Linked DNA regions of Homo sapiens: all the other regions are linked to region 1. Evidence: promoter capture Hi-C in 16 types of primary human blood cells and fetal thymus (Javierre and others, 2016). All regions are on one chromosome and are shown on one strand. The core of a region is centred on a gene start or on the middle of the fragment in contact, and the rest is flanking DNA. Distances in the headings are between cores, read along the strand shown. Region 1 holds the start of NXPH1 (neurexophilin 1). Region 2 has its middle 380 kb from the start of PHF14. Region 3 has its middle 350 kb from the start of PHF14. Region 4 has its middle 250 kb from the start of PHF14. Region 5 has its middle 230 kb from the start of PHF14. Region 6 has its middle 200 kb from the start of PHF14. Region 7 overlaps PHF14 (PHD finger protein 14).

What was found. Contacts are between HindIII fragments. The CHiCAGO score rates a contact against its expected background, and 5 or more counts as called.
Region 2: a contact is called between a fragment that was not itself captured here and the fragment with the promoter of NXPH1 in region 1, in 3 of 17 cell types (naive CD8 T cells, total CD4 T cells and total B cells). The highest score is 7.9, in naive CD8 T cells.
Region 3: a contact is called between a fragment that was not itself captured here and the fragment with the promoter of NXPH1 in region 1, in 10 of 17 cell types (total B cells, naive B cells, M2 macrophages and 7 more). The highest score is 22.2, in total B cells.
Region 4: a fragment that was not itself captured here is called in contact with the fragment with the promoter of NXPH1 in region 1 in 11 of 17 cell types (total B cells, activated CD4 T cells, total CD8 T cells and 8 more); the score reaches 26.8 in total B cells.
Region 5: a contact is called between a fragment that was not itself captured here and the fragment with the promoter of NXPH1 in region 1, in 10 of 17 cell types (naive CD4 T cells, naive B cells, total CD4 T cells and 7 more). The highest score is 20.2, in naive CD4 T cells.
Region 6: a contact is called between a fragment that was not itself captured here and the fragment with the promoter of NXPH1 in region 1, in 6 of 17 cell types (total CD8 T cells, total B cells, naive B cells and 3 more). The highest score is 8.7, in total CD8 T cells.
Region 7: a fragment that was not itself captured here is called in contact with the fragment with the promoter of NXPH1 in region 1 in 1 of 17 cell types (endothelial precursors); the score reaches 5.8 in endothelial precursors.

What each region holds. Positions count from the first base shown.
Region 1 is chr7:8,431,688-8,435,936 of GRCh38, forward strand. NXPH1 (neurexophilin 1) reads left to right here and starts at 1,922. Exons shown (of 3, transcript NM_152745.3): 1 at 1,922-3,068; 2 at 3,917-4,080. The coding sequence starts at 4,027. RefSeq lists enhancers at 2,486-3,033, 3,034-3,581, 3,582-4,129. The HindIII fragment of the contact is 6,580 bases long and covers 606-4,249 here.
Region 2 is chr7:11,353,681-11,357,929 of GRCh38, forward strand. No RefSeq gene overlaps it. Among named protein-coding and RNA genes, the nearest start is that of PHF14, 380 kb to the left of the region's middle. The HindIII fragment of the contact is 8,274 bases long and covers 1-4,249 here.
Region 3 is chr7:11,321,731-11,325,979 of GRCh38, forward strand. No RefSeq gene overlaps it. Among named protein-coding and RNA genes, the nearest start is that of PHF14, 350 kb to the left of the region's middle. The HindIII fragment of the contact is 4,116 bases long and covers 403-4,249 here.
Region 4 is chr7:11,222,978-11,227,226 of GRCh38, forward strand. No RefSeq gene overlaps it. Among named protein-coding and RNA genes, the nearest start is that of PHF14, 250 kb to the left of the region's middle. The HindIII fragment of the contact is 5,086 bases long and covers 1-4,249 here.
Region 5 is chr7:11,203,156-11,207,404 of GRCh38, forward strand. No RefSeq gene overlaps it. Among named protein-coding and RNA genes, the nearest start is that of PHF14, 230 kb to the left of the region's middle. The HindIII fragment of the contact is 970 bases long and covers 1,482-2,451 here.
Region 6 is chr7:11,172,145-11,176,393 of GRCh38, forward strand. No RefSeq gene overlaps it. Among named protein-coding and RNA genes, the nearest start is that of PHF14, 200 kb to the left of the region's middle. The HindIII fragment of the contact is 1,839 bases long and covers 944-2,782 here.
Region 7 is chr7:11,151,876-11,156,124 of GRCh38, forward strand. The region is part of intron 17 of PHF14 (PHD finger protein 14); the gene reads left to right. Among named protein-coding and RNA genes, the nearest start is that of PHF14, 180 kb to the left of the region's middle. The HindIII fragment of the contact is 3,820 bases long and covers 335-4,154 here.

The DNA of each region.
Region 1 (4,249 bases), core at 672-3,171:
GATACATTTTTCTGTGTTACTTGGTGGCTCGGTATCCTTTTCTGGTTGAGTATTATAGGAGATGAAGACCCCTGTGAAATATGAAAAATGACAATCCGCCACTGTTTTATATCACAGGCCAAGTATCTCATAGGATCCAGCGAAGGTTGAATGTCTGGGCAGAAGATCTCAGGTCATTAACAGAAAAAGCTCTTTGGCATCCTGTGTCATAGAACAAAGTGTCAAACCTGTTCCCATTACTAGGTGCCTGTGGTGCTTTTCTTAAATAATCAGTCCCATTCAGACAGACATTTTAAGGTCTCTGATCATCTTTCTATTTCACAAGCAGTATTTTTTTAAGGCTAAATGGCACTAGAAGCAGAATGTTTTTAAAGTAAGGTTTAGAAAAGAACTTGGTATATTCCAAAGCTAGCCGGATTCTTTCTCATTTTCCCAAAGGTCAGACAGAAGTTCAGCTCTGACAGCATTGTAGCTGGGAATCCAGATAGAGGCAGGCAACATTTGCTCCAGCTCTACACTCCAGTCTGGGAGGCCTGGGAGCTCCTGTACAAATAGGAATCAATTTTAGGATAGCCTTATGAATCCTAGAGGATGGAATTAGACAAAGCTTTTTTTGCCCCTGCTTTGACCATTTGGCCTCAGATACGGGTGCCCCAATACTTTAATTTTTCTTCTTTAAAGTTTAAAGTTTTTAAGAAAATGAAATAGCTGGTAAGTGAAAATAGTCAAGAAAACATTGTAATTATGCTATATGTACATGTGCGTTTTTTCTGAAGTGGATTTTCAGAGACACAGTTAGAAGGTGTGCTTCACTGCTTTATTCTGCATATGCCCCAATGAATTCCAGGAGGTCACAGCAGCAGAGTACAACTTTTAAGATTAGAAGAGCTTGCTCTTTAAAGAGTTATTTTTAGCTGGAAGGGAGAGTGTAGACCTCAAAGTGCTGGTAGGTATGTTCTACAGTGGGGATCTAATTTGGAGGTCTTTGGAGATCTGATTCCAGGGGAAGGTCTCAGTGGGGCTCCTCTTGCCTCTGCTGCAGGACTGGGTGGCTCTGCTGATTGTCACTGCCTTGTTTGAGGGGTGGTCTCCATCATCCAGGGGAATTCAGCCTGGGACCTATTGTCTAGAGTGTACATTGTATCTAGGCCCAGACCTGCCAGAGTGTCCACAGCCACACTTGAGGAAAGGACATTCCAGACTCATTAAATATCACAATTCGATTTTGATGTCACTAACTCAGGTTCCTGAGATAAATTTCCATACAATTCCTACAGATTGATATGGATATGTGCATCACCCCAGGAGAGGCTCTGGTGAAGGGCAGGCTTGGAGATGCAATGGGCAAGGTTGGGGAAGAGATACCCTCTTCCGGGTTCCGATTTGTGCCCTGAATTTGGGCAAGCTCAAGGAGCACTGGCAACCCCACCAGCACCAGAAGAAGCTGGTCCTGGCTGTCTCCCGAGACTGGTGAAACTGCTCTGGTGGTGGTGCACTGGAAGGGTGGAGGAAAAAAAACAAAAAACAAAACAGGGTTTGAGGGGGAATGGCAGGGACACGGTAGAGGCACAGAGATACAGAGACCTAGAGTCAGAAATCCTGAGTGAGACACACAGAAAGGCAGAAAAAGGCAGAAAGATGCTGAGGGACAGAGACGCAGACCACAAGAATGACAGAAGAAGGAGACAGAGAGAGAGAGGGAGTGAGAAAGATACTGAGAAATAGGGACAGTAAGGGAGAGACTGAGAAAGACAGAGACAGCCAGAGTCGGAGCACAGAGGCCGAGTCTGGGAGACGCTGGTTGAGTGGGAGGTGTCAGTAGCGAGGGAGGTGGTGACGGCTCGAAGCATCCCCCGTCCTCCTCCTCCCCCTTCACGCTCAGCCCAGCCGGCGGCGAGGAGTCCAGAGGCCAAGGTCGCCCAGTCCTCTCGGCTGTCTCGAGCTGAATGGCTGGCAGTCTGCGGCTCCCCCGCCTCCGGCCCGGCAGCCACAGGTCGGAGGCGCCCGGCGTCGGCGCTCGAGGCCGGCAGGGGCGCCCTGCACCCTCCCGCGCCCTTCCCCGCCCTACGCGACTCCCGGCTGCTCTTCCCGCCACTCCCCTGGGCTTTGCGATCTTCCCTACGCCCCCCGGGAAGGGGGCGCTGCGGCCACCGAAGACACCGCGGGAGCCACTTGTCCCTGTGGGCCCAGCCCGCGAGAGCCTGAGAGCCGGATCTGTTTACACAGGGTACTAATTAGTCTTTGAGGAATCATTCACCCACGTGCCAAAGTAATTGTCCGTGTCAGGAAGGTAGGCGTGCCAAGCCGCGGCTCTGCGGAGAAACCACGACCACCGCGGCCGCCGGAAACCCAAAGCGCTCCAGAGCGTCCCCGGGTGGCCGGGCAGCACCAGGGACAGCGCCCGGGACTCCACTGGGGACCGGCTCCTGGGCTTCCCAGCGTCGCGGGTAGAGGTACAGCTGCTCCGTGTGCCGCAGGCTCCAGATTCTCGCCACCCCACCCCTCCCTCAGAAACTCGGACTGCTCTCGTCTGCCGTGTGGTTCTCTTTTCTTCCGAAAGGCCAGTGTCTTATCTCTCCACTTCAAGTCCAGAGGACTTGCTCAGTCTCCTCCCCTTAAGTCATTTCCACCATCCTCAGGCAGCTGTGGGAAGCCGAGAGTCCTGGACTGTTCGTCCGGGTGCCAGCGCTGGCAGTCCCAGTCCGTCCGGTGCAGCAGCCCGGCGCATTCCCCTCTCTCCCTCCCTCTTGCTCTCCCTCCCTTTCTGTCTTCCTCTCTTTCCTCCTCTACTGCTCCCTCCCTCTCTTGCCTCTTAAGTTTCCTGCACCGTGAATCCAACTGTGCCAAGCCTTGGCTCCCGCGAACCAATCCTGAGCGCGACCCGGGCACTGGGACGGCGACTCCGCCAAAGCTGGACGAGGCAGCCGGACCCGTCTGCGCTCGAGCATGGAGACGGAGCGCCTGGGAGGGCACGTCCGGGGCGCTGGAGACGCCAGGCCCGAGTAGCTTCTCCATGGAGCCTGCCCAGAGCGGTCCCTTCTCGCAGGATTCGCCCCAAGTCCTGTGCGGTACGTACCCTTTGCCTCCGCTGTTCCCGGAGGGTACACCTGGGAGCGGGGTGGTGGGCACGAGGAAGGGACGGCAGGGAGGGGCGCTGGTTAGGAAAGAGAACAAGCCTGGCAGGTGACCCTCACAGCTCGGAGGAGGCTTCTTCTCTAGAAGTTAGCGACCGGCTGTACCCTTTGGCTCGAAAAAAGTAGTGCTAGAGATGTGACTGTGAGCATTCGTGGGTATCTCTGTGTGCGCCAGGGGTTCGAATGGGTAAACTGATCCCTGCTTTCCTGTATGCAAATTGCATTCTCTTTCCCCACCCCCACTTCACCGAACGTGTTGAGGTACCTAGCACCTAATCGCGGTCAGTTCTACCTACCTCTTCCTCTCACCGCGCCCCCCTCGCTCAATCTCTCTCTCTCCCTTTATCTTTCCCCTCTATCTCTCTCTGCTGGTGTGTACGTGTGTGAGCACTGCCAGGGCTGGCGAAGAACCAGCCGCCGCCTTTAGTCCGAGCCGCCGGGCCACCCAACACAAGGGCAGGTCTCGCTGCCGGAGAAGCCTGGGCTCCGAACCAGCCTGCACGCGGCTCAGTGTGCTCCGCCGCCTGGGAACTCGCACCCGAGGAGCGCAGGGGGCAAGGAGCCCCTCACCCTCCCTCTCGTCCGCCCGCCCGCCTCCCCAGCTGCGGACCGCGCGCTTGCTGGTCTCAGGCGCTGGATTTACTCGCTTTTCAATTTTTCGTACCCTCCCTCCCTTTTTTTTTTGGTCCCCCACTCCCCGCTACGACCCCCTTTCCCCGCTTGATTGTCAAGCCTAACCTTGCCCGCGTAGTCATGGGATGTCTAATTTTATTTGCATCTAGGCTGCTGAGAGCGCTCCTTGCTCTGTAAAGTGGATGTCAGGTGGATCTATGTTTCTGAAGGAACAAAGACTCAAAGAAGGCACCGCCAAGGAAGTTTGAGACGCGGGAGAATGCAGGCTGCGTGCTGGTACGTGCTTTTCCTCCTGCAGCCCACCGTCTACTTGGTAAGTCTTGGAAGGTTCGGGGCTTTCGCATTTTTACCCCGGCCGGGAGGCAAGGAAACTGGGGACACGCGGGAGAAGGGTTACGCCGCCAGTTCAGTGAGAGCAGCTTCCTAGCAGCTGTGTTGGAGCAACTTTGGCAAGCTGGTCTCTGGATTCCTGCGGATTTTCC
Region 2 (4,249 bases), core at 1,083-3,582, 2.9 Mb after region 1:
AGTGTCCTGGAGATTTAGAAGTAGCTAGTGTTCATGGCAAGGAGGGATTAATTTCCGACAGGCGATGGAAGCTCAACTGTGTTCACTTCGGCATCAAATGTAAAGTGATGCCATTTGGAAGTTGGGGGTCTGCCTTTTATACTGGCAAGTTGTCATCCACAAGGGCAGCAGTGGAAAATCCCTATGTCATGTATAGCTGTAAGTTTTGAGGGAGCAAGGAAAAACCTGCGGGGCTGCCTTGTATGGCTATTTAGGTTTTGCTCTGCACAGTTTCTGTGATATACATAATATTCTCTGGAGTTTTACAGTGCAGCTGCCCTGCCACCTCACTTCTCTGTATAAATTTCAGTGTTGTATAATAATTAATTTGCTTAGGCTGACATTATATATCACACACTTCAGTACTGAAACCCTCAGGGGTTTGCCATTGTCTTAAAAGAAATTTGATGTCAATCTGTTTAAAGATGAGACATCTATGAAATGTGTGTGTTTATACATGTGTGACTCTCTCTCTCTCTCTCTCTCTCTTTCTCTGTGTGTGTGTGTGTGTGTGTGTGTGTGTGTGTGTGTGTGTGTGTGTGTGACATAACCAGCTTTTTTTTAAGGGGCTTTCCTGGGAATCAAACCAAGATATAATAGTAAATGCATGTATAATCAGTTGGGTTCCCTCCTATTGTTTTTGATAAGGGCCAGGCACAGAAATTAACAATTAGGAGGTGCTAGATATGGCTCTTTTGGAGATGGTTGGGGTGAGATAAGTGGTTATATGGCCCTAGTTTTTCTTTTCAAAATTTAAGGCATTTCATTATGTGTTTTGGGAAATACACATTGAATTTCCATGGCTGTTAAAATTTCTGGATGTAGATAACATCTTGCATTACATATTGTGTACTCAACCATTGACTTAGAAAGGAATGGTAGTAAAATTAATCCAAAACATAAAATAATCCCAAACAGGCTTTATTTAATGATGGAATGGAAAGTAGCAGCTTGGTGTAGTGGCTCTCAGATAGAAAGGTAACTCATTCAGAAGCTGGGCTGTGAAGACCTCTTGCAGGTGTTAGACATGACCAGGTTAGCTTCATCTCTTTCACTGAATGCCTCATGTAATTTCACTCCAAGTTGAGAATGGGTAATGCTGACTCTGAAGTGGATAGAGAGCATTGTGCAGGTGAGAGAGGCCAGGTTACCAAGGCCTGCTCATGGCTTCAAGAATGCCATTTTTTTTCTTGGCTTATGTGATTTCTCAGGTTCTACCCCAACCAGTGCAAATAACTAGGTAAGGAAAAAAGAAAGTAGACATAGCTCCCGGTTGCTTCTCTTGTTCTTCAACAAAATCCACCTAAAATTTGGTCAATGCAGTCTATGTGGAACTGAGAATCCTCTAGGTCACAGGAGCTTAGAGCAGGAACACCCTGCTTTTTTATTATTAGGCTGAGTGAACATGTGAGAATGTTGGCATTTATGGGCCCACCTACTACCATGTGAAGGATTCCCAGCTGAGCACGAGTCCCGTGTTCTCATTCCAGCAACTATGCCTACCGAAAACGTAAATCTACTATTCAACTTTCTGGGGGATCAAGATTCATCAGAGTCTCAACTGCCTTTGTTTTTGACTCTCCAGTTAACACCAGTGAGCACTATTCCCATATAGCCTGCAAAGCAAATAGAAGCTGAGTTTAGTGTTGCTTGCTATTGCCACAAACTCTTTGTTCCGGACTCTTGTTGTTCCCCTAAATATATTTTTTACTTCATCCAGAGACATGGCTGATCAATCAGAGACTATATTCCTCAGCCTGCCTTGTGGCTGGGTATAGTCACATGAATGAATTCTCACTGATAACATGTGGGCAGTACCAAGAGGTACCAAGAAGCTGGATCCGTGATGATGTAAGTGAGCCAGGGAGCCCGTCAGTCCTGCAGTGGTCTTGGTTTCCCTGCTAGGCACAGTAATATATGGCTTCACTGCTTAAGCAATTTGAGTTAGGATTACTTGCAGCTGAAAGCACACAAATGAAAACCGAGGTCAACTAGTTTGTCTGTGAACATTTTGTCAGGATTTCCCCCAGAGCAACTGTGACAGATTTATGCTACCTTTTCAGAACTTACAAGTTTAAGTCTATTGCCAAGTGTGTTTTAAATTTATCCTGTCGCATTCCTGCTGCTATTTAAGCACGAGTTTTATTGTCCTGTCAGAGGAGAAAAACTCTGGGTGATTTAGAGTTATTTGGCAAATCTCAGCCACTTCTATTTCAATGTTAATTAATCTCTAGAACTTTAAGACTTTCTTGACAGATCCCATTTTATAACCCTTTAAACTGGACCCAAAGCAGCTGATTATATTCTAGTGTAATTGATCTCTTTTCCTCTTCCTTAAACTATTTTTACTTGGAGCTTCTATGTTTCAAAAACTTGGGGGTAAATTATGGTCCTAACATGACTTCCAACGTCCACAATTATCTGAAGTTAGGAAAAGTCCACTTTAGCTTTCATGAGCAAATCTCCCAAGACCCTGTGAGCTTCCACCTGCTGCCTGGTGACAAAGTTAGTGTCACATGTTTTAGGCATTTGTAAATTCTAGGTATCAAATTTTGTTTTGGTTCTCTATTGCTGAATAGCAAACTGTATACACCTCTGTGGCTTAAAACAACAATAGTTTATTTGGCTCACAAACCTGTGATATAGGCATAGTTTGGTGGGGTCAGCTCATCTCTGTTTGAAGTGAAGACAGGTAAGGTGTCTCAACTTTTAAGACAACTCACTCATCTTGTCCGTTCCGTTAGTATTGGCTATTGGCTGGTAGCTCAGCCACTGTCTGTGATTGGAGGCTTGGTGCTTTTCCATATGGCGCCTCCATGGAGCTACTTGAGACCTTACAGCATGGTGGCTGGATTCCAAGAATAAATGCTCTCAGAGGGTTAAAGTGGAAGCTATCAGTCTCCTAAACACAGAATCCTTTCTACCATATGCCATTGATCAAGCAGTCACATATTCTGCCCACCTTAAAAGGGTAGGATATAGCAGGAGTAGAAAGACTTTGCAAAAGAAAAGATATTAATTTTATCCAGATTTTAAAACCAAGAAAATGGAAACACAAAGATTAATTTCCCCAAGTTTACACAGCTTGTAAGTGGCAGAACTCAACATTTAATCCAGGGAGTGAGGTCACAGACTCCTTGTTCTTAACAAGTACACTTTTATGAGAAAATTTCACAAAGAGAAGCCTTTTACAATTGACTACTATGGTTTAATTTTAAGTCTGCCAATCAAAGCCTCAAGGGAACTGGATCTTAATATGTAAATATAGGAAACACTCCCACTGGTCAGTGAAGACTGGCTTTTATTTCAGTGTGTTGATGTAACAAATTCTAACAGATTTATAAATTTTAAACTTCAACAAATTTTAAATCCTCATTATTTTTATTTTGCTTACAGCTCATCTCACTTCTGAGAAAAATTAACTTTTTATACTATCTGATTTCAAATATAATCTGATCTAATAATTTTAATTGTTCCTTAAGCATTGTTCACTTTTTCTGGGATAAAAAAATTCAGTATTTAAGATCATCTATTTTCTTCCTAGTTGTTTCTGTACCATGATGACATCTGAGTATATGGGCATGCTAAATCTATTCTCTTGGAGGTCTCCCCAAGACTATACATGAGCCTTTTTGACATTTTGAGCACCCAGGGAGAGTGGTGCATCAGATAGCTTATGCTTTTCACTGTGGTCTTCCCCTACCCGTCCCCGCTATCCATTCCTTTTGGTCTGGCATGCCATAAGCCTTTTAAGGTTGTTTTACAGCTACACAGAACCTAGCAGACGCTCTGAAATAACTCCATGAAATTGAAGTGATCTAATTAATGTGTGAAATGTCATAATCTTCTCTTCTATAGAATCTGTTTGGGTGTCTGGAATGGGGTGAGGGGTTGAAGTCTTACTTCCTTATTCTGCTTGCTTTGGGATTGCTGGCATGTGCTGGGGCATCCTTCGGAGCAGTCCTGACTAAAGGTGAGGAGTGGTTGGAGTTCTTGGGAAACAACCCAAGGAAGAAGACTACTTTTATTTTCTCAGGTTGTAGAAACAGGTAACCTGATCGGTACATGAAAGACGTCGTGGTATTTTCTTCACTTTGGGAAAATATCAATCAAATATCAATTTTAGTTTATTTAACTTAATAAATTAATGCTTTTTATAAAGTTTATTACTTTTCCCACTATCTTCTTGAACCAAAAACACATTTTAAGT
Region 3 (4,249 bases), core at 1,211-3,710, 2.9 Mb after region 1:
AAAAGGCAAAGAACAGAAGTTCAGCCTACAGAAGATTGGTAAAGAGGAGAGAACAAATTGAACAGAGCAAGCATCATGAACTAATAGTAGAAAACTTTCCTGAGATGAATAATATCCTAAGGCAGCACATGAGACAAACTGGTCAACAGGAAAACAACACCTTAAACGTATCCTAGTGAAATGTTTGAATTTCAATAGTAAACAAAGAATCCTCTGAGCATCTAGAAAGACAAGGTAGAGAGATCAGGCTGGTCTCAATCTTTTTCTCCATAATGTTGAACATTAGATGCTAATGGTGGAGCAACATTTATAGAATTTTGAAGTAAGTAAAAATAATTTGAGATTAACCAGAAATTCTCTGTTTAATCATATGTTATCATTCTTATGTAAAGGAATCAGAGAAGCTTTGCATTTACTATCTATTGATAGATTTATATGAGCTATAAAATTTATATACTCCACATATTACTCTTTATAAAAAATTACAGTTTAACTTTTTTTTATTTTTGTTTTTAAAGAAACTCAGGAATTCTGCTCTTGGGAAGATGGATTAGATGTATTATTCTTTACTCTTCCCACTAACTACAACTAAAACCTCAGACTTACATATAAAACAAGCATAAGGAGACTCTGAACGGTGAAGAGAAGAAGGTGGACTTACTGGAGATCTTAAGACCCAAGAAATAATGGAGAAGTAAGTTCCTTGGATTTTCTTTTTTGCCTAATATACCCCAGACTTGGAGCTGAAGAAGCTGGCAGCCCAGAAAAACCAAAAGGCACACATTTTCAGAAGTCTCAATAAAAGCCTCCTTCCTCTAGCCAAAGGACCAAGAAATGGGCAGCCCAGAAAGACAAAACAACAACAACAATAAAACCCTAAAAACCCTCTTAGATGAAAAAAACAGCACCGTAGCCAAACACCACAGAAATTTTGTGATCCCAACCCTCATCCACAATAACAAGGGTTAAATGTGAATCTAGACTTCTATCCTCACCAGAATGTGACAAGGTGCATCATCTCCGCTCTCAGGGTCATCTTAGGGAAAGGTAAGTAGGGAGCCAAGACTTTCATAACTACCAGGCACTTATGAGGACCCACCCACTCTATGGTATCAGTGGATACCACATGGGGATCTTGAACTCTCAGTCTCACCTGGCAGTAATCCGGCACCTCTGTCTCTCCTGGATGGAGGCCTAGAGGAGTGTTGGGACTTTCCTGACTTCCCTTTTGTGGAAAGACCACTCACTCTCCCCATATGTTAGTAGAGGCCACAAGAAATGATTTCACACACAAATTTGACACCTTAGATGAATGGGCCAAATACTCAAAAAAACACAAATTACTACAACTCACCCAATATAAAACATATAATTCAAAGAGCTCTGTAACTATTAAAAAAATTGATCTTATTACTTAAAAACTCCCAAGATAGTAATATCCAAGCCCAGATGGTTTTCCTTGGGAATTCTAGCAAACATGTAAAAAAGAATTAACATCAACTGTACATCAAGTAATCCAGAAATTAGAAGAGAAGAAAATGCTTCTCAATTCATTTTATGCTATCATTCATTTATGCTAAAGTTTGAGGGCCACTGCTGTAGAATTTTGCTGGGCTATGTGTGATTTCAGGATCAGCAGCCTCAGAACACGAGAGCTGTTAGGATTGCAGTAGCTCAGACCCCACCCAGACCCAGGTGCAGCGTCACCTGGAACTTTTTATGAATGCAAATTATTTCTAACTGATTTTATGTAAATCACGAACACTGAGATTGAACAAGCCCTCCAGGTGATGCGAATGCAGCTTAAATTTCAACCATGGCTACTAACCGAAAAAAGCTAACTATAGACCAATATCCCTCATAAACATAGATGTAAAAATCCTCAATGAAACACTATCAAATATAATTCAGCTAAAAAGAATTAGACACCATGAACAAATGGGATTTATTCAGAGAAGGCAAGTCTAGCTCAATATTTGAAAATCAATTAATGCAACCTACCATTTTAGCATGGTAGAGAAAAAAGTCTTACGCTTATAGCAAGCAATGCAGAAAAAAGCACTGGACATTCACCCATTCATCACAAAGACTTTCAGAACAAATAGAAATAAAGGGGAATGTTCTCGATCTGTTAAAGATCATCTACAAAAACTCCACAGTTAATATTTTACTTAATAGTGAAAGATTAAATATTTTCCCCTAGGATTGGCAACAAGATAAGGGTATCTGCTCTTATTATTCAACATAGTACTAGAAGTTCTAGTCAGTAGAGTAAGACAAGAAAGGGAACTAAAAGGCATATTGGTTGGAAAGGAAGAAAAAAACCTGTTCCTACCTTAAGATGGTATAATTGTTCATGTATAAATTCCAAGGAATCTACACAAAAATTCCTGGAATGGATAAGTAAGTTCAGCAAAGTTGCAAGATTCAAGATAGGCCTACAAAAATCTATTTTATTTCTATACATCAGCAATAAACATGTAGAAAAGCCATAATTAAAAATAAAATACCATTTAAATTTACTCCAAAAAAGAGAAAGAAATACTGAGGTGTAAATATATCAAAACATAAATAGGACTTGGAGACAGAAACTACAAATACTGATGAAAGAAATCAAAGAAGATCTAAATAACTGGTGAGACATACCATGTTCATAGATTGGAAGAATCAACATAGTAAAGATGTCAATTCTCCAAAAATTGACACACAGGCTGAATGCAACTCCTATAGTTCCAGAAATATTTTTTGTGTGTATATATATAAAGATTATTCTAATATTTAAATGGAAAGTCAAAGAAACTAGAGTAGCTAAAACTATTTGAAAAAGAATAAATTGGGAGGAACCAGTCTACCGAATTTCTACAGTAATTGAGACTGTGTTATTGGTGGAGGGATAGACACATAGATCAGCGGACAGGATAGAAAACCCAGAAGCAGGTCCTCAAAATTATGCCTGATAGATTTTTTTTCAAAGATGCAAAAGCAATTTGATGGATGAAAGCTAGCATTTTCAACAAACTATATTGGAGCAAATGGGCATCCATAGACAAACACTGATGCAAGTCTCATACTTCGTATAAAAATTAATTCAAATTGGACCATGGACTTAAATGTAAAACTATAAAATTTTGGAAAAAAAATAGGAGAAAATCTTTGAGATCTAGGGTTAAACTTGACACCAAAAGTATGATCCAGAAAAGGAAAATTGATAAATTGAGCTTTATAAAATTAAAAAAAAAAACCCTTTTCTCTGCGAAAAACCCTTTTAAGTGGATGACAAGGTAAGGTACTGACTAGGAGAAAATATTTGCTAACTACATGTCTGATGAAGGATTAGTGTCTAGAATATGCAAAAGCTCTCAAAACTCGACAGTAAAACAAAAACAAGAAAATGGGCAAATGTCAAGAAGAGATACTTTACTGAATGAGAAAAGCGGATGTGAAAAGATTTCCAACGTCATAAGCATTAGGAAAATCAAATTAAAATATCAGTATACACCTATCAGAATGGCTAAAATAAGAAACAATGGCCAACACCAAAGTAACTGTGAATTTGTATCTCATTACAGCTTGAATAATATGCCATTAATTTTCTTAATATTTTCCTTGCTATTGTTTTTCTTAATAACTGACTTGAATATCTCTTTTACTTAATAGTTTATGAGAAGCTGGCTTGTGTTGGTATTTAATATAAAATGGTTAGAGATATTTTGCTTCTTCAAAAACAATGAATTAGCTCAAGAAATGATTAAAAGTATAATCAAATAACATGAAGTTAAGCAGATAATTAAATTTATATATGAGAACATAAACCTTTTGTGCTGTTTTCAGAGCTGTGAGCCCAGGGCTGTGTCATTAGGCTAGGACAGGCAATCAGTAAACTTTTGTTAAATGGGTATGTGAAAGATCAAATAAGGGGATGAATAAAAACTGAACTTGTGGAATAAGAAGAATATTAATAGAGCTGAAAATTGTAAGACTTCCTAAGGATGCTCAGGGCTAAATTTTTTTTTGTTTGTTTTTTTAGGCGGAGTTTCGTTCTTTGTCGCCCAGGCTGGAGTGCAATGGGGCGATCTTGGCTCACTGCAACCTCTGCCTCCCGGGTTCAAGTGATTTTCCTGTCTCAGCCTCCTGAGTAGCTGGGATTACAGGCGCCCGCCACCCCACCTGGCTAACTTTTTTGTATTTTTAGTAGAGACGGGGTTTCTCCATGTTGGCCAGGCTAGTCTTGAACTCCTGACCTCAGGTG
Region 4 (4,249 bases), core at 999-3,498, 2.8 Mb after region 1:
TGCAAAGTACGGTCTACAGACCAGCAGCATTGGCATTTCTTGGAAACTTGTTAGCAATGTGGAGCTCAGGCCTCACCCCATGATATTGAATCAGAATCTTCATTTTTAATAAGATGGTCAGGTGATTTGTATGCACGTTAAAGTTTGAGAAGCACAGATATAGGACACACACTGTAGTTAATAGATAAAGGCATGGAGAATATAAAAGAAAATTAAAAATATATGTAATACATCAAGAAGTTCCAATATCAGTCAATCAGGAGATCTAGAAAAGACTAGAGAGAACAGAGGTATGGCAGCATGCAAAGAATAAGAGAACAATTTCTTGGCATTAAATGTCAGATTGAAAGGGCTCATTGAGTACTAAGCAGGGTAAAGGGAACAATAACAGCAACTCATACCTAGATAAATGGCAGACACATTTCAGAATACTTGGAATAAGGAAAAAACCTGTTAAGACTTCTAGAGAGAAGGAATAGATTAACTTTGCAATGAGAAACAGATATACAAGTGCAAGAAGAAAATGGAATAATGTGAAAATGCTGAAGGAAAATGTACCTGAACCTCTTATTTCATACCCAGTGAATCTATTATTCAAAGACAAGGGCAATGTAAACACATTTTCAAACATAAAAGTTGATTCAGTCAGGATTCTTAGTGACAGAGCATAGATAACCTTGTATCTATCAAGGTTAAGCAGAAAGGGATTTATAAAAGGACTTTAGAAAGCTCACAGAACCTCTTGGAGGGCCAGAGAATGAGGTTAACAGGCTGTACAGCAGGAACAACACAGTCAGAGGCAGGGGCACTTACCCAAATCACTGCACAGGGCCATGAAGGCCCTACAATTGTATCCGCTTGCTGCTTATCACCTACGATGCTAAGAACTACATACACTGAATTCTGCCACAGCCCCCAGAGGAATTTGGTACCCCTTTCATTGTGCTTGCCCAAACATCACCTCTTTGCACTTGGCCTTCCCTTGTGATTGCACATTGCTGTCCTGAGCCTCATGTGGGAGCATCTGCTTGGTAGAGCTAAGGTCCCATGTAAATATCCAGCTTCTGGGAGGTTGGGAACACAATTTCCAGGGTGACAAACTCTATAGAACAGGAAGGCAAGCTAGAGGAGGGATGGAATCAGAGTTCAGTGAGCCAGACTACAGTATCTAGAGCAATCCAACAGAAGATAGACAATTAAAAAGAATCATGGAAAATTGGATGCACAAAATAAGAGAGGAATAAATCTAAACATATTAGTAATTGCAGTACATGATAATATATTAAGTTTATTAAACAACAGATTTGCAGACTTAAAAACTTAGTCTCAGAAGTTTCCAGAAAAGTAGATATTTATGTATGAGGCAACTGTTTATAAAAAGAAAGCATGTATAGTAATTGAGATGATAGATACAATAAATTCAAGATGAAAATCACTAAAAGTGCAAAAAAGGACAGCTCATATTGATAACAGAAATAATATATCAAAAGTATCTGAGCCTTTATATTCAATATTGTTAACTAATTACTTAACTAGCTAGTTCTTAAACTGGGAAGACTTTATAGAAAATTATAGCACTGAGGGCTCAAATGAAAAAATGGAACTTATGTCTAGCATTGCAGAAGTTTTTTTTCTGTTTAGGGGAATATGTAATTATTGGGCAGACATGCAGAGCATTAAGGCAGGAAGAAAAAGGCATAAAGCAAACAGAACAAGATCATATGTAGAAACTGACTGTGGACTCTTACAAAAAAGTTCAAACTGCAGCTGACCTGACCCAAGCAAACTGAATTTCCCAGAAGAGAGCCACATAACTTGAGCAGAAAAAGAAGCAGCAGGATTATTCAGTGAGGAGAACAAGAAGTTTATACAAAAACTTTGTTGTATGGGATTTATGCCATACTATCTCTATTTATGCTTCAAGCTACTGTATAGAAAATATATTTAGTTTATATTCCAGAATGTAACTTCATTTTTCTCAATCAGTAAATAAAGCTATCCTTAAAATTGAACAGTGTTTTTTTAACCCATCCAAATATTAATTACCAATTACATGATTGAATAAGTTTTTTTTTTTCTACAAAAAAGGCTGTAGTGTAGTCAGACTTAATTTTCTTTTTATTTGAAACTTCTTGCTTCACAAATGTCACTAAACACCCTAGGGTCAAGCTGGAATTTACAATCATTTTAGCAGTTTAATATTTTGGTAGGAAAAAATAATATTTCTCCAAAAATTGTCATGTTATACTTGGGAAGTTCAGAGACTGTTTCTGTGCCCCCAGTTCTCAGAGCATCCTTGTCACCTGGTGGAATGCTCTCCTGCTTGCTGTTGATAAACTGCAGGGCGTCAGTTGAGCCTCTTCCCTTTAGGTTACTGTTTGAAGGTCCGCCTTGTAGGGAGTCACTGTGATCAAGGGACACAATTTAGCATCTGATAAAAATCAGAGCATGGTAGAAGTTCAAATTTCCGTTCCCTTCATTTGAAGGCATCTGTGTTTTACAAGTCCCTTGTCAAATGTGGCAGGTAGCAGTTGAAAGGATGTCTTCCCTTCCCGCTGCCAGTTTTATTAAGGTAGAGTTGACAAATAAATATTGCATATATTTACAGCATACAATGTGATATTTTGATATATGTTTACATTGAGAAACAATTGAATCAAGCTAAAGAACATATCCATCACCTCACATACTTATTTTTTTAAGATCTAGTCTCCTAGCAAATTTCAAGTATACAGTCCATTGCCATTAATGATAGTCACCACGCTAAACAATAGGTCTCCAGAATTTTTCATCAAGAGGATGGGTTTTAAAATAACGTATACTAGCATTTTAATCTAGACTCTGCTACTTTGTGGCTATATAAATTTAAGCAAGTCATTTACTCTCTCTGAGCCTCAGCTCCTAGTCTGTAAAGTAGACATAATAACAACATTCAGTTGTCAGGATCAGATAATGAGATAATGAGTGTAGAGTACCTGACGCAGTAGCTATTAAAATGAAATAGCTATAGAAGTCCTTGAAAATAATTTCTTAAACAGTTAGCTGGGAGACCTCCTAAATATCTTTATAGTTGTTTATCTATTGATGGTGAGTGGAGCCTCAGGGACCCAATGAGAGAAAAAATAAAATTGAGGATTAGAGAAGTAAATTGGAGCCATTCACCTACAAGGACCTTACCACTGATTTCAGGTCTCATTTTGAGTATTTTGACAATATGAATTTAAGCATTAAAGCTGAGCCTTTAGGGGTAGCAGTTCCCCTTCCAAGAACTTTTTCAAATGAGTTAATTATTTGCTATGAACCAGGTACCCTCTATACGCTTGGGACATATCAATATATAAGTTAAGCCAGCTAAATTGCAAAGATGTATTACAGTCATCCTTGTAGTATAATTTATGTTATGAGTCCAGCCTGAAGTACAAATAAAACACAGCTCTTATTTTTCAAATACAGTCTGATTTGATCACTTCTATGATTAAATTAGCAGCAAATGCAGTACATCTTTGGTGGGGATGAGGCTGGTGGGAGAGTCCCTCTTTCTTCTAAAATGTTTATGAAAGCTATAGGTTTAGTCAGTCCAAAAGGGGCTTTTATAACTTCCGAAAACTTTGTAGAGAAAGAACCAGAAAACATGTTCTGTTTACAGACATTTTTAAGCTGCTATTGTCACTGTTTGTTTCCTGTGGTTATTCCAAAATCTTCTCCTGAAAGGCATAGTATCAGTCTGCACAGTTGTGATGATGATGATGACATCGGTGGTGTCAGTTCAAATCTCTGTGTATGCCTGATGGATCTTCAAACAGGGCATCAGTTCACACAGCATTATTCACGGTGAATAGCACTCCATGTCAAAGCATTAGTAACAATTTATCTCTAGGCCCTGGGATTATGGATAGTTTCATTTTTTTCTCTTTGCTTATCTGAATTTTCTAATTTTTCTATAACAGCATGGATTACTTTGTATTAATATTTTAAGTCAAGAAAAGCCTATTTTAAAGTGAACTTTATCAGTTACATTTAATGTGAAATTCCTCTTCTAGAGCTGATCAAGGAGAGAAGATAAGGCATGGATATTCAGTTTAAAATGGTGAGATTAAACTTTTCCTTTATGTGCTAGTCTTTTATTCAATAAGTAATTTGGAGCACAGCTTTTGTCATGGGGAAAATAGCTGATGGGGAGACATGGATAGAAAAGGGACATGACCCTATCCTCATAGATTTACAGACTGGTCACTGGATGCTGGTGACA
Region 5 (4,249 bases), core at 717-3,216, 2.8 Mb after region 1:
CACAAAATACATGTTGGGTGTTGCATATGGTAACATTAATTAGTGAAGTTTATTATTTGTTTCATTCATTACAGAGAATTGGGTTGCCCAGGACTTTTTGAGTAACAAGGGACAGAAAATCAAACTAACTTGAAAGAGTTTGGGGTGAAGACCTCAGAAGCAGGCTTGAGCAACCCAATGACAGGAAGGGCAGGGACATGGCTGAGGCTGGAGGACAGCTGGTCCCAGGATTGTGGACATGCTGAGACTTTCTGTCTTTTGTCTCTGTATTGCTCTCCAGTACCAAGGCAGACTGTCTTCCTCCTCACACGGGGGAATGTGGATGCTGACAGGCTTAGAGCTTCACATCTCATAATGTTTGCTACCCACAGGAACTGAAAAATTCCCCAGCTTGAGATGAGAAATTCCTGTAGGATTAGAGGGGATATGAGGTAGATTGTGGCATTGGCCCCAAATCTTTATTTCTCCCTGAATCTTTATTCTTTGATTTTCACTGTGTAAGTTCTCCCCAGAAGATAGGCTACATTTCCCACCTCTTGACTTCATGTTTGGATGAAGTGGAGATAGCAGAGTGTCCGGCCTCAAAGGCCTCTTCTGCTTCTGCCTTGCTTTTGTTCTTTGGCTATTTCATGAGAAGGACATGCCCAGGCCAGCTCTCAGGTCCCAGGATGGGATAAGAGGCATGTGGAGCAGAGCCACCCAGCTTGGTCCAGGCTGCAGATGCTGACCCCCAGCTCACCCTAATTGCATGAGCGAGCTCAGCCAAGATCATCAGAGCTGCACAGCTGAGCCCAGCTGCCACTCATGTGACACCCAGACCAGGGAAAATAAATGATTGTTGTTTTTAGCCGCTGAGTTGTAAACCTAGAATTTTTGAGGCAATAGTTAATTGATACAAACTAAGTCTCAGGTTTGTGACTTCCTAGCTACCTGACCTTGGGGGAGGTACCTACCCATCTGTATTTCTCTCTCTACCTCTGTAAAATGGGGACGGTAACAGCATAGAATTGTTGTGAGAATAAAAGTTGTTAAATATACAATGTCTGGCACATAAAAACACGAGTATATTTTAGTTATGATGGTGATGATGATGATTACTCTTTCACATGCCCACTCACAAACAGTTGTTGCTAGGGAGGTGGGCGGGGTCCTAGGAAGTGACCTTGCTCGGGGAGGTGTTCATCCCTGGACGAATCCAGTGAGGACAGAGGAGTGGAGGGTCTGTAAAGACATTGCGGCTGGTTGGATGTGGTGGAAGAAATATTCCCCAGAAGACATGAGTGCTGATGCTAAATTAAGATGAGAGGAAGTTTGGGCAGACAAAACAAAAAAAGGTGCACTTCGAACATTTTAGTTATTTCTAAAATCATAGTTTCATTGGAAACTCTGGATCGCAACAAATGACTTCAGACACATAACATAGAGCAAGGAGCATGAGTGCATCCCATCTCCTCTGTTTACTAGGCATTTAATCTTAGGGAAGCTTGAATGAAAATAATAATTCCCATCTCCCAATGTGGTGTTAGGAATTAAATGAGATAATGTATGTAAAACAAGTGGGCTAGTCCATGACGTATAGCAGGCACTCAGTAAGTGGTAGCTGTTGTTGTGGCTGGTATCCTTGACCCCTCTGTGATGGGCTATTTCTCATTAGCTTCCACTGAAGGAGGGGAGCCTTCATGACCTTGCCTCTTGCATTTCTGGAGTTCCCTCCACTGACTGCAGCCTAAAGCACATGCTGTTAAAGTCATGTTTGTGAAGTCTGAACGTGAGCAAGGTGCATCAATTCTAGCGCAATTAATGTTGAACATGTCCATGCCTCTAGTTTTTCAAAGGTGGCAGCCTCAGAAGAAACCCTGTGATATCTGACCTGGAAATCCTTTTTGGTGCAGAATCTGAATTGCAAAGCTGTTATTAAAACCTGCAAATGATCAGCAGTGGTAAATGGGAGACGTTAACTGCCTGTAACTCTCTTTGTCTCTCCTTGGCTGACACTCCTGACTGATGCTGGGAAAATGGCGAGCAGCTCGCTATGCTGGGCTGTAATTAGTGTATGCCTGGAAGTGCAGACCTTTTCATAAATAGAACTTTGTGGGGAATTGCTCATTATTCCCGTGATTTTAGGAAATAAAGAAAGACCCCAATTAGTTTTCAATCTCAAGAAAGAAAAAGAAGCAACAAGCAGTTTTCCTCTGGCAACAAAGAGAGAGAGAGAGAACCTGGTCATACCCAGGGTTATGTCTACAGGAATCACAATCTGATGGAGTGGATTTTTCCCCTCTCATCCCCATGCATGGCAGCAAATAGACACAATCTCTATCTTGCCCAGAGAAAGATGAAGATGTGTCTTAATAGGCTGGCATTTCTGAGCACTAAAAGCAATCACCCTTTGTCATAACATGTGCTGCCATCAGGAAACTGGGGAGAACAGTTGATAGTGTTTGAATGAAAAGCTTTACCTTGAAGAGGAGATGATCAAAGAAAGTGTTTGATGTCACTATGTGGAGTTAAACTGCCATTCATAATTGTAAATATATTGTTTGGATAAATTAAAAAGTTTTCATCATGGTAAGTGTATGTTTGAACATGGGGTGTGTTGTAGTACTGGCAGAGAGGTGGGAGGGTTGTAAGTGGAGCTCAGTGGGCTAGAATGTTCTAATACATTGCTGAATTTCAGAAAAGTGGAATTGTGCACGATGGGTTGTTCTGGTGCTTGGCCACTAGTTCATCAGAGGCGACAGAAAGACATCAGCAGGCTCAGGCATCTCAGCATATCCACAGAAATGTCACTGCACTTGCTGTCCTTCAGAATAATTGGTTAATTCTCAGCCTGGGAAGGGGCTTCAGTGAACTATGGAGATGCTGTGATCACACAGCACCAGTGGTCCCGGCACACAGGGGTTTATTCCAGTGGCTTTGCAGGGAGTACATGATCAATGGCTGTTTTTGAAAGATCTTGATTTGGGGTAAATTTACTTTCCCATCATGAATGCCATGCTATCAGAAAGACAAATTAATTTAACATGAGTGACTTAGTGCTCCCTTATGAATTACTTTCCAATTGTTTTTAATAGCATCTCTTTATCTCTAGCACAAGAAAACACAGTTGACCTTTAACAGCCTCTTTTATAAATGAACCCAATTGCAGTTCAGCTTTCCCACTTTCAGATCTTTATCTCCTGGCACCTTGAATCCAAACTCATCTGGATGCAGGTCCAGCTGTCTCTCTAATGGTATCTATCCATTAATTAAACACTCTGTGCTTAACAGCTTGCACACCAGCAGCGTAAAGGATGAGAAGGCAGTTCTCCTTTAATCTACAAATATTTATTTTCTTTTGGGAGGATTGGTTGGGAGAAGATTAAGTGTACAGGAGGATGACCAGCTTATGGAGAATATGTATGTTTTGGTGGAAGTTTCCTGCCGAGTCACATCAGGTGCAGTTCGTAAACAGGAAGGCTGGCTCCTATTCCCTGCAATCATAAATTATGAAATACCAGTTAAAACAAGCATCTGGACTGAGGAATGTGTCTTTGTCCTCTCAGTATTTTAATGAATGCATGTGAATGAGTTTACAGGGAAGAGTGAATATAACTCAAATGGAATTGGACTCTGATATTTATGGGCTCCTGTCTGCACAGGAGCCGGGTCATGGCTTGTATATTCTTATCTTGCCACAGAGCATTATGGGGGAATCCTTAGTCCATTTACCTTTTTCTGTGTTTCTCAGATTCATTCATCACTGAATTGTATAAAAACTTCCCTGGAATAGCAAAATAACAAGTTGAAAGTTAGGCACAGCGTTAGCTTTTTAAAAATATAATTTTTAAATACAGAAGGAGTATACGAGTGTGGTAGAATATTAGAAAACACAGAAAAGTAAAACTAGCAGAATAAATAGACTATATTGCAAATGCCTAAAGACTGAACAGTAGATACATCTTCCCAGATAACTTTTTATGTCTTTGGGATATATATATGTATATAATGTTGGGGGTAATCTGCTTCTTTAGTTAATAATGTCTATTTTTCAATTCAGTATTATTTTATCTCATCAAACACCAGAGTATATTCACATTTTTATAATTGTCTCAAAAATGTTCCTTATTGCATTTAATTGTTATACCTCTAAGATCTCTTTCAGTCTGCTGTGGTACATTGTTTCATGCACTAACGTGTCAGAAAGAATGGACCAGTCATCCAGGAGGGTGACTAAATTAAACTAAGCTCCATGGCTTAGTTTAGTTTC
Region 6 (4,249 bases), core at 613-3,112, 2.7 Mb after region 1:
GACACATTCAGTTCATAATACATTTAAATAAAGTCCAAGTACCTCTGTTATAATAATTCTGAGCTATGTTAAGGAGCACTGGAGCAAAATCCCAATGAAATGTCTATGGCAATATAGATTAGATGTATTTAGGGAGAGTCCTTATAAACGTTGATAACTGGGATATCTATCTATAAGTCGATTTCTAAAGAAGACAAACCACTAAAAAAAAAAGGAGCTGTTTTGTTTACCTCTTTATCCCTATTACCTAGCTCATTTTTTGGCCTATACTAGGTGTAACACTGTGACTGTAAGTCAGCCTGTAACTTGCACTGTAGAATACCCTAAGAACAAGAATTTTATGATACCTGTATAATTTTTACTTACTGAACCGAACTATCTTCTCTTCATGCTAGTTATTTGAGTTGTATTTCTTCATACCTTCCAAGAATTTAAAAATAAAAGAACTTTAAATGAGTATTTGTTTCTATCATATTTAGGAAAAGCATGGTTTTTTAAATTGTATCCAGTATCATACTCTTTCCTCCAGTCTAGGGAACAAATAGCAGAAGCGGGAAGGGATATTATGCTACTCTTGAATGGAAATTGCTGGGCACTAAGATGCTCAAGTTTTTTAAATCATTCAACAAAGCTTTAGTAGGACCTACTATAAGATATACTGTTCTGCTTATCACTGGGGATTCAATGACAGACAAGCTTACTGTGCTGTTACGGTCTTGAAATTCTTAGCTTTTGAAAAAGAGACCCCATGGTTTTATTTTTCACTGACCTCACAGATTACGTAGTAGATACCACTAATGTTTATACTCTTTAAGTCAATTTTATTGGAGTATATTTTACATAAAATTCACTCATGTTGTATGTGCAATTCAGTAAGTTTCAACAAATACATATATTCATGTAACCACCTCTCCAAGATATAAAGCATTTCCATCACCCGAAAAGCTTCTGTCCTTCAGTTTTGCAATCATTTACACACCCCCACTATAGCCACCGATCTACTTTCTTTATTTGTTTTCCCTTTTCTAAGACTTTATACAAATGGAATTATATCACACACATCTTTTGTGTGTGGCTTTCTTCACTCAGCATAAAGTTTTGACATTCATCCAAGTTATTGCATGACTTCATTTCTTCTTATTGCTGAGTACTTTTCATTGTGTGAATATACTACAATTATACTGTGTGAATACTACTACAATGGAATATATACAGATGGCCAAAAAACACATGAAAATATACTCAACATCATTAGTTATCAGGAAAATGCAAATTAAAACCACAATGAGTTACCACTGTATACCCGCTGAAATGTCTATAGCTCTGTTATCAGCTATATAAACAGCAGCTATTAAAAATGTGTAGCTATTGAATACTTGAAATATGACTAGTCCCAATTGAGATGTGTTGTAAACATATAAATCAGATTTTGGAGCTAGAGTGCAAAAAAAAATCCATAATTTTTACTCTGATTACATGTTGAAATGATAATATTTTGAATAGATTTGATTAAAATTTTAAAATAAATTTCAACTATTCTTTTTAAATTGTGGCTACTAGAAAATTTGAATTTATATATTATAGTTTCCATTGTTTTCCCACTGGACGGGCCTCCTGGGCTATAATTTGAAGGCCGATAATGAAATGTTGGTAAGGTTATGAAGCAACTGGAACTCGTCATACATTGTTGGTAGAAGTGTAAAATGATACATTATTTTGGCAAAGAGTTTGGAAATTTCTTATGAAGTTAAACATACCCTTAATATACGACCCAGTAATTCCACTAATAGATATTACAAAAAGAAATGAAAGCATGTGCCCTCACAAAGATTTGTACATGAATTTTTTTTAAGATCTTGCTATGTTGCCCAGGCTGGATTTCAACTCCTGATCCTCCTACCTTGGCCTCCCAAAATGCTGAGAGTACAGGCGTGAGCCACTGTACTCAGCCTTGTACATGAATAACTTTTTATTATTTTTTTTTTTTTGAGACGGAGTCTCGCTCTGTCGCCCAGGCCGGACTGCGGACTGCAGTGGCGCAATCTCGGCTCACTGCAAGCTCCGCTTCCTGGGTTCACACCATTCTCCTGCCTCAGCCTCCCGAGTAGCTGGGACTACAGGCGCCCGCCACCGCGCCCGGCTAATTTTTTATATTTTTTTAGTAGAGACGGGGTTTCACCTTGTTAGCCAGGATGGTCTCGATCTCCTGACCTCATGTTCCACCCGCCTCGGCCTCCCAAAGTGCTGGGATTACAGGCGTGAGCCACATGAATATTTTTAACAGCTTTATTTATAGTAGCCCAAAACTGGAGCTAATTTCTTTTTCTTTTCAAGTAAAAGTCCCACTTCATACTGGTTATTCTTTTCAGAAACCATTTGTCACACTAAGCTGTGTGGTGTAGTTCACAAAATTAGGGTTTGACCCTTGATATTTTAGGGGGGATATTTGATGTGTAATATTTATAGCACCAGTGTAAATGTTAGAATCACTGTCTATAAAACATGTTAATGAAAGACCTAAAAAAACTAAACAATATACAAAATTTTTTACAAATCCAACATTCAAAAACTAGTCAGTTCATATCTAGAGGCAAAAAATAAAAATAGTGTATATCTTATTTGAAAACATTTAATGTAGTTAAAGTCTTTAAATGATTTCACATTGTTTTAATGGTCTTTGAATGACCCTTGCAGTTAGAAATACATTTAAACTCAATTTTAAAATTATAAAATTATAGCTATATCTTCTGATAAATTGCATCTACTTTCCTGGGGATTAGAAAGCTTGAATGAGGGGAAAAGCAGAGGTGTGTGCCCAGTTGCTCCAATTTTAAGTCTATGAACAATTTTGAGTCTATGAACTGCTTTAGGTTTCATTTTTATACATACCATACCAAATAGGACATACTCTTCTCAGGATATAGTCATTTTTCATTTGTGACTTTCTAATCATCCAGATAGAATGAGGTGAGTCTGAGTAGTTTTGTTCCTCTAATATTTTTTGAAAGGGGATAATGATATTCTTATTGCTCACTTTATATATGTATATTCTTTCTGTAAAATGTTCTTAAGATTTTATACAAATGAAATTATGTTATACATACCTTTTGTGTCTGGCTTTCTTCACTCAGCATAAAGTTTTGAGATTCATCCAAGTTATTGCATGACTGTAATTATTCCTTACACTAATGATTTTCCTCTAAGCTTAAACAGTTGGAGGCATTTGATATGTCTGTACTCTCCTACATTCATTATAAATTTGTCTAGTTTTTCCCAGATGCAATAAACTATTCCTCTTTAAATTGAATGTATACCAAACAAAAAAGGGGAATCTTTCCTACAACTGCTTCTTTCACATGGCTACATCAGATTTATTTTGAAGCCCGTTGAGAAAGAAGAAGTAAGTTCATTTCATTGCTTCGGCATTTCCCCAGTGCCTGGAGTCCTTGAGGCCTGCACATATTTCTACTGGTTGTGTGCTAACACTGCTTGGGACTGAAACAACGTACTTCTGACATTAGGCTCAACAAGATTCACTTTGAATAGTGAAAGTTGATTAGAAAACTACTCCATTTCTCATTACCTCAAGAAAACAATTTTTACATAGCCATGAATGAGCAAATTTCACCCCCATCCAAGACTATCCTGAGCATTTATAGCAGGTAATAAATGTCTTCCCATGGTGAATTCAATGTGAAGTCCAAGGCTTTGTTATCTAGAGAGGAAGTTAAGTGCTAACAGCAACAGCATGAAAACGCATGCAGCTATGGTATAATTCTGATTTGTTTTAGAAAAACTATTAATTTCCTTGTTACAAAGCCAAGTAAGAATAACCCTTTAAAACTCTTGAACCATGAAAGCCATTTTCCTTAAGGGTTTTAAATTTGGGAACAGACTCCTGAAATTTATAGCTTTGATGAGATATTCTTTGCCTGCAGTCAAGATGAGAGCTAGATCATTGGTTTCCCAGCATGACACCTATGTGTTCTTGTGTGCACTAGATATCATTAAGCTCATAATAACACAGCCAGCATCACATTTAACGTTTGAAAGGTTCACTTTTGTCTCGTAGTTTACATCTTTCATTTGCACCTATTGCATGCTAAATATCCCACTCTAGAAAATGAGATACACTCTACCTATATTGATACCGTCGATGGAGTAAAAAAAAATTACTATTTTCATATCCATGACTTTCAAGCTGCAAAGAGTCAATAGATAATGACTTCTAGAAACAACAGATAATTGA
Region 7 (4,249 bases), core at 995-3,494, 2.7 Mb after region 1:
ACAGAATTTTATGTTCCTCAGAAGCTGATCCTTGTACATTTTTCCAATATACATTTTTCCTCTTCTATTTCTGTATCCTCATAAGATTTAAGAAGTATACCACAATAAATCCTAAATATTTTCAGAATAGTAGAAAAACTAGAAGGAGAGTTAATATGTTTACCAAAATTTTCATAAATAATCTTCAGGTAGCAGAACTGTCAAGCTGTTTTGGATTTGAAAATTGCTTTTGATCAGTACTGCAAGATAGACTTAGGACCTTTTAAGATAACTGAATAATAATCTGGTCAGTATCCATTGAGCAAAAATTGGATTGTTTTGGAAAAGTATGTGAAGCTTTTAAAATTTATTGATCATGAGCAATTCTAACTGTACATACGGTATATTGAAAAGGGAATACTTTTTATAGTCAGAGCTGAGTTTGGAATCCTAGCTCCTCTAATATTTTTGGATATGTGACCAAGGGCAGTTCCTGAGTGTCACCAATCTTCAATTTCCTCATTGGAACATAGGAACAATAATATTTATCTTGCCTGGCTTTTGTGAGGATTATAAATAACGAACGTAAATACAAGCCTTTAATAATATACAATAATATATTTGTAATATATTCTGTATATAGGAAGTACTCAAAAAGTCAAAATTATTATTTACTTGATTCCCATGCTTCTATATAGTAAGGAATTCATTCATATATCCAATAACTATTCATAAGAACTATTCATTGAAAGGCTACAATATGATAGGAATAAGACTAACTTATAAGGATATCGTAATAAGAAAAACAGAAAATCTGCTGTCGTGGAGCATGCACTCTAGTAAGGCAGACAGACAATCTGTAAATAACCAAGTGGATGTTCATTTTATTGTAATAAATGTTATGGAAAACAATCTGAGTGATGGAGGAAGGGCAGATTTTGTGCATAAAGTCAAAGAACTCACTCACTGATACCTGCATGACAAGAAAAATGAGCCATACAAAATAAAAGTCAGAGGAAACACCTACTGCATTTTGTTCAGGAATCAGAGGGAAGAGCAGCATGTTTGGAGCCAGGTGAGGAAACTGAACTTGTGAGCAGATCGGAGAACTCAGTGAGGCCGGAAAGGTCAGAAGGGCCTGATGATGTACTTTCTAGGTCATGGCAGTAGTTTGGATTTTACCCTAAATACAAAGCTACTAGAGAGTTCCAAGCATGGGTGGATTGTGATGTGATGTGTGTCTTACAAAGATTACTGTCTCCTGTATAAAGAATAGGTATACAATTATAAAACCAAAGCAAGGAGGCTGATTAGGAAGCTATTGGATTAATCCACAGGCAAGAAACATGATAGCTTGAATTAAGATGGTAGCAGTGGAGATAGAAAGCACTAGACAGATTTTAGATACCCTTGGGTGATAAAGATAACAGGAGTTGGCTATAGAGTATAAGAGAAAGGAAGGAATTAAGGAATGACCCCTAGAGTTTGTGTTTGAACAACTGAGTCTTATAGACCAAGTGAGGTATAAGTCTTTTTTAGTGGGGGTAGGGGAAGTTTAGGGTTGGGAATCAAGAATTTGGCTTTGTACATGGTATGTTTGAGGTCCTTATTAAAAAGTTTATTGGAGACAAGTAGCAGTTGGAATATGAGTTTAAAGCATGGTATAGATGTGAGGGCTGAAGATATAAATGGGAAAGTCATCATAAAGTAGTTGGCATTTGTGGCCATTTAGAGTCATCTCCAGATGACTATTATCAAAGGATAGCAGAGTTCTAAGGACAGCATTAAACAGAGGGAAAAACTCATAGAACTAGAAGAAATTTAAGAGGCCAATATTGTCATTGGTAAGGATTCTTTAACAGAAAACCCACCTACTTTTAATATTTCATACCCTGTATATTCAAAATTGAGAAAATTGGGTGGTTATAGGATTAATTAAAGAAGACTTTGTTTTCTCACATTGTCAGTGTGTTGACTTTCAACCTTAGACTTACTCCCATGGCCACAAGATGGCTACAGAGTCTCGAAGTATTGTGTCCTCACATTATAATACATAGAGGCAAGCCTATGAAAGTGGTCCCTGTCTGTGTGTGCGTGTGTGTGTGTGTGTGTGTGTGTTTTAAGAATAAGGAATACTTTCCCAGAAGCTCCCCTGTAGGCTTCCATACATGTCTTATCCAGAATCAGTTCATGTCGCCGGTAGGGTCTACCATGATAATGATAGACAAACACATTTGAAAGAAACTAATGGATTTAACCAGGTTATTTATATGGAATTTACATTGCAGTGAAACTTCATTGCTATGACTTGGACTATTATTTACTAAATAATTACTATTGTATTTATATTAAGGAATACTGATATTTACCATTTATGTATACAGAGTTCCTCAATTTAAAATCACATCCACTTGAGTATGTGTGTGTGTGTCTGTACATTTGCATGTATAAAAGAAAAACAAAATGTAAACATCATTTCAAGGTGAATTAAATTACTTTTAATTTCTCTTCCCATTCCAATAGTCAGTATTTCTAAAAATCAAAGATACAAAGATAAAAATGCTTTGTATTTGTAAGAATATGGCCTGCTTTCGTTTAAGCAACTATATGCCTAAAAAGGTCTTAAGTCAATTTAATAAACTATATTTGTCTAATTTCTGTACCAAATCATTATTTAGTCTTCTAAATAATAGTCCTACCTAGACCTATATTGGTCCTACCTAGATTCCCAATATTGTTTTCATATCAGTTGGACTATTATGCTAACATTATTGCTTTATTCAGAGAGAAAGAGCATTAATTTACATTCTCTACAATGACAACATCATGCAGACTATAGAGTAACTCTGGGAAGAACTTCAGTTAAAAATGCTAATCAGATGCCCGTGGGGTGACTTGGAGGAATTATTTAATTAATAGCCTTTTCCTAATTACTACTTAGGAACAAATGTCTTTAAATGTAATCATTCACCCACTTTATTTATTTATTCTTGCTGTCTATGAATAATACAATTATATTGTAATACCAACAGTTGAAATTGCAAGATCAAGAAATTAGAGTGACATAGGTAGAATTGGCTTCTATTTAATAACATAATGATGGTTATTTAGCTAGAAAAAAAAAGCACTGTTTTTGAAGAGGATCCTTACTATCTATCTGTAGGTACCTATCTTCACTACAGCAGTATGTCATTAATGATTAAAAACTGTCGTAAAGTTAAGCCTAGAAAGAGGAAAGAATAGACTTGATTGTGCTTTCTGTGGGCCAGGATTTGTGCTAGGCTCCTCATATTTTATTTTATTTAATAATTTTAGTCGTCAAAAATAGTTACTGCCATTTTATAGATGAGAAAACTAGGTTCTAAAAGTTTAAGTGATTTCTTCAAAGTATTTTTGGGTAGTGTAGGTATCAAAGTTAGGATTTGAATCTGGGTTTGCCAGTCACTGACAACAAAGCCCAAATTTCCTCCACTACACAATTGCATAGAAGAAACAGAACAAATATGAAGTATGTCAGAAGTAACCAACCATGAGCACTGTGTAATGCTAGAACCAGAAAAGCAGAATTCCCAACCTTTCTGTGTTATTTTCCACTACTTTGCTCTTTCTCACTGGGCTTTGGCTGACTTACCCTTCCCACTGTTCCCTTTACTTAGAATATTCTTCCCTCCATTGTTTGCTTGACCAACTCTTTCTTATCCTTCATGTCTCATTGCATTAGTCATTTTTTGGAGAGTAGGGGACTTTGCTGAAATTTTTAGATCCTTCTACTAAAAGTCACATAGCACTATGTTTTTCTTCCATTGAATGTGTCATAATTGCAATGATACAGTTACTTGAGTGATCAATTGTTTTAGTCAGATTGTAAACTCCATAAGGCAGGGACAGTGTCTGTCTTATATACAATGTTTTTTTTTTGTTTTTTTTTAGCAACTAGCACAGTGCCTGACACATAGCTAGCTAGTTGATGTTCAATCAGGAAGGAATGAATAGATGGCTTATATAGCTTGCTGGAGATCTGTTTTCAAGTAAGATATTTTAAAATTTTATTTTATAAAATAATTTTGTCCTTATGTTTTATAGCCTATATTATGAAATATTGGGAAAAACTTTATACTTATGTAGTAGCTAATAGGTAATAGAAACCATTGGCTAAATGAATGCATTTTCAGACAAGCTTTATAAGTGATTTGATACTTGCCAAGTGGCCTGTTTTGTGAATCATTTAAGTACATACCAGTGGTGGTTTTCATTATGGTAACAGTTCAAA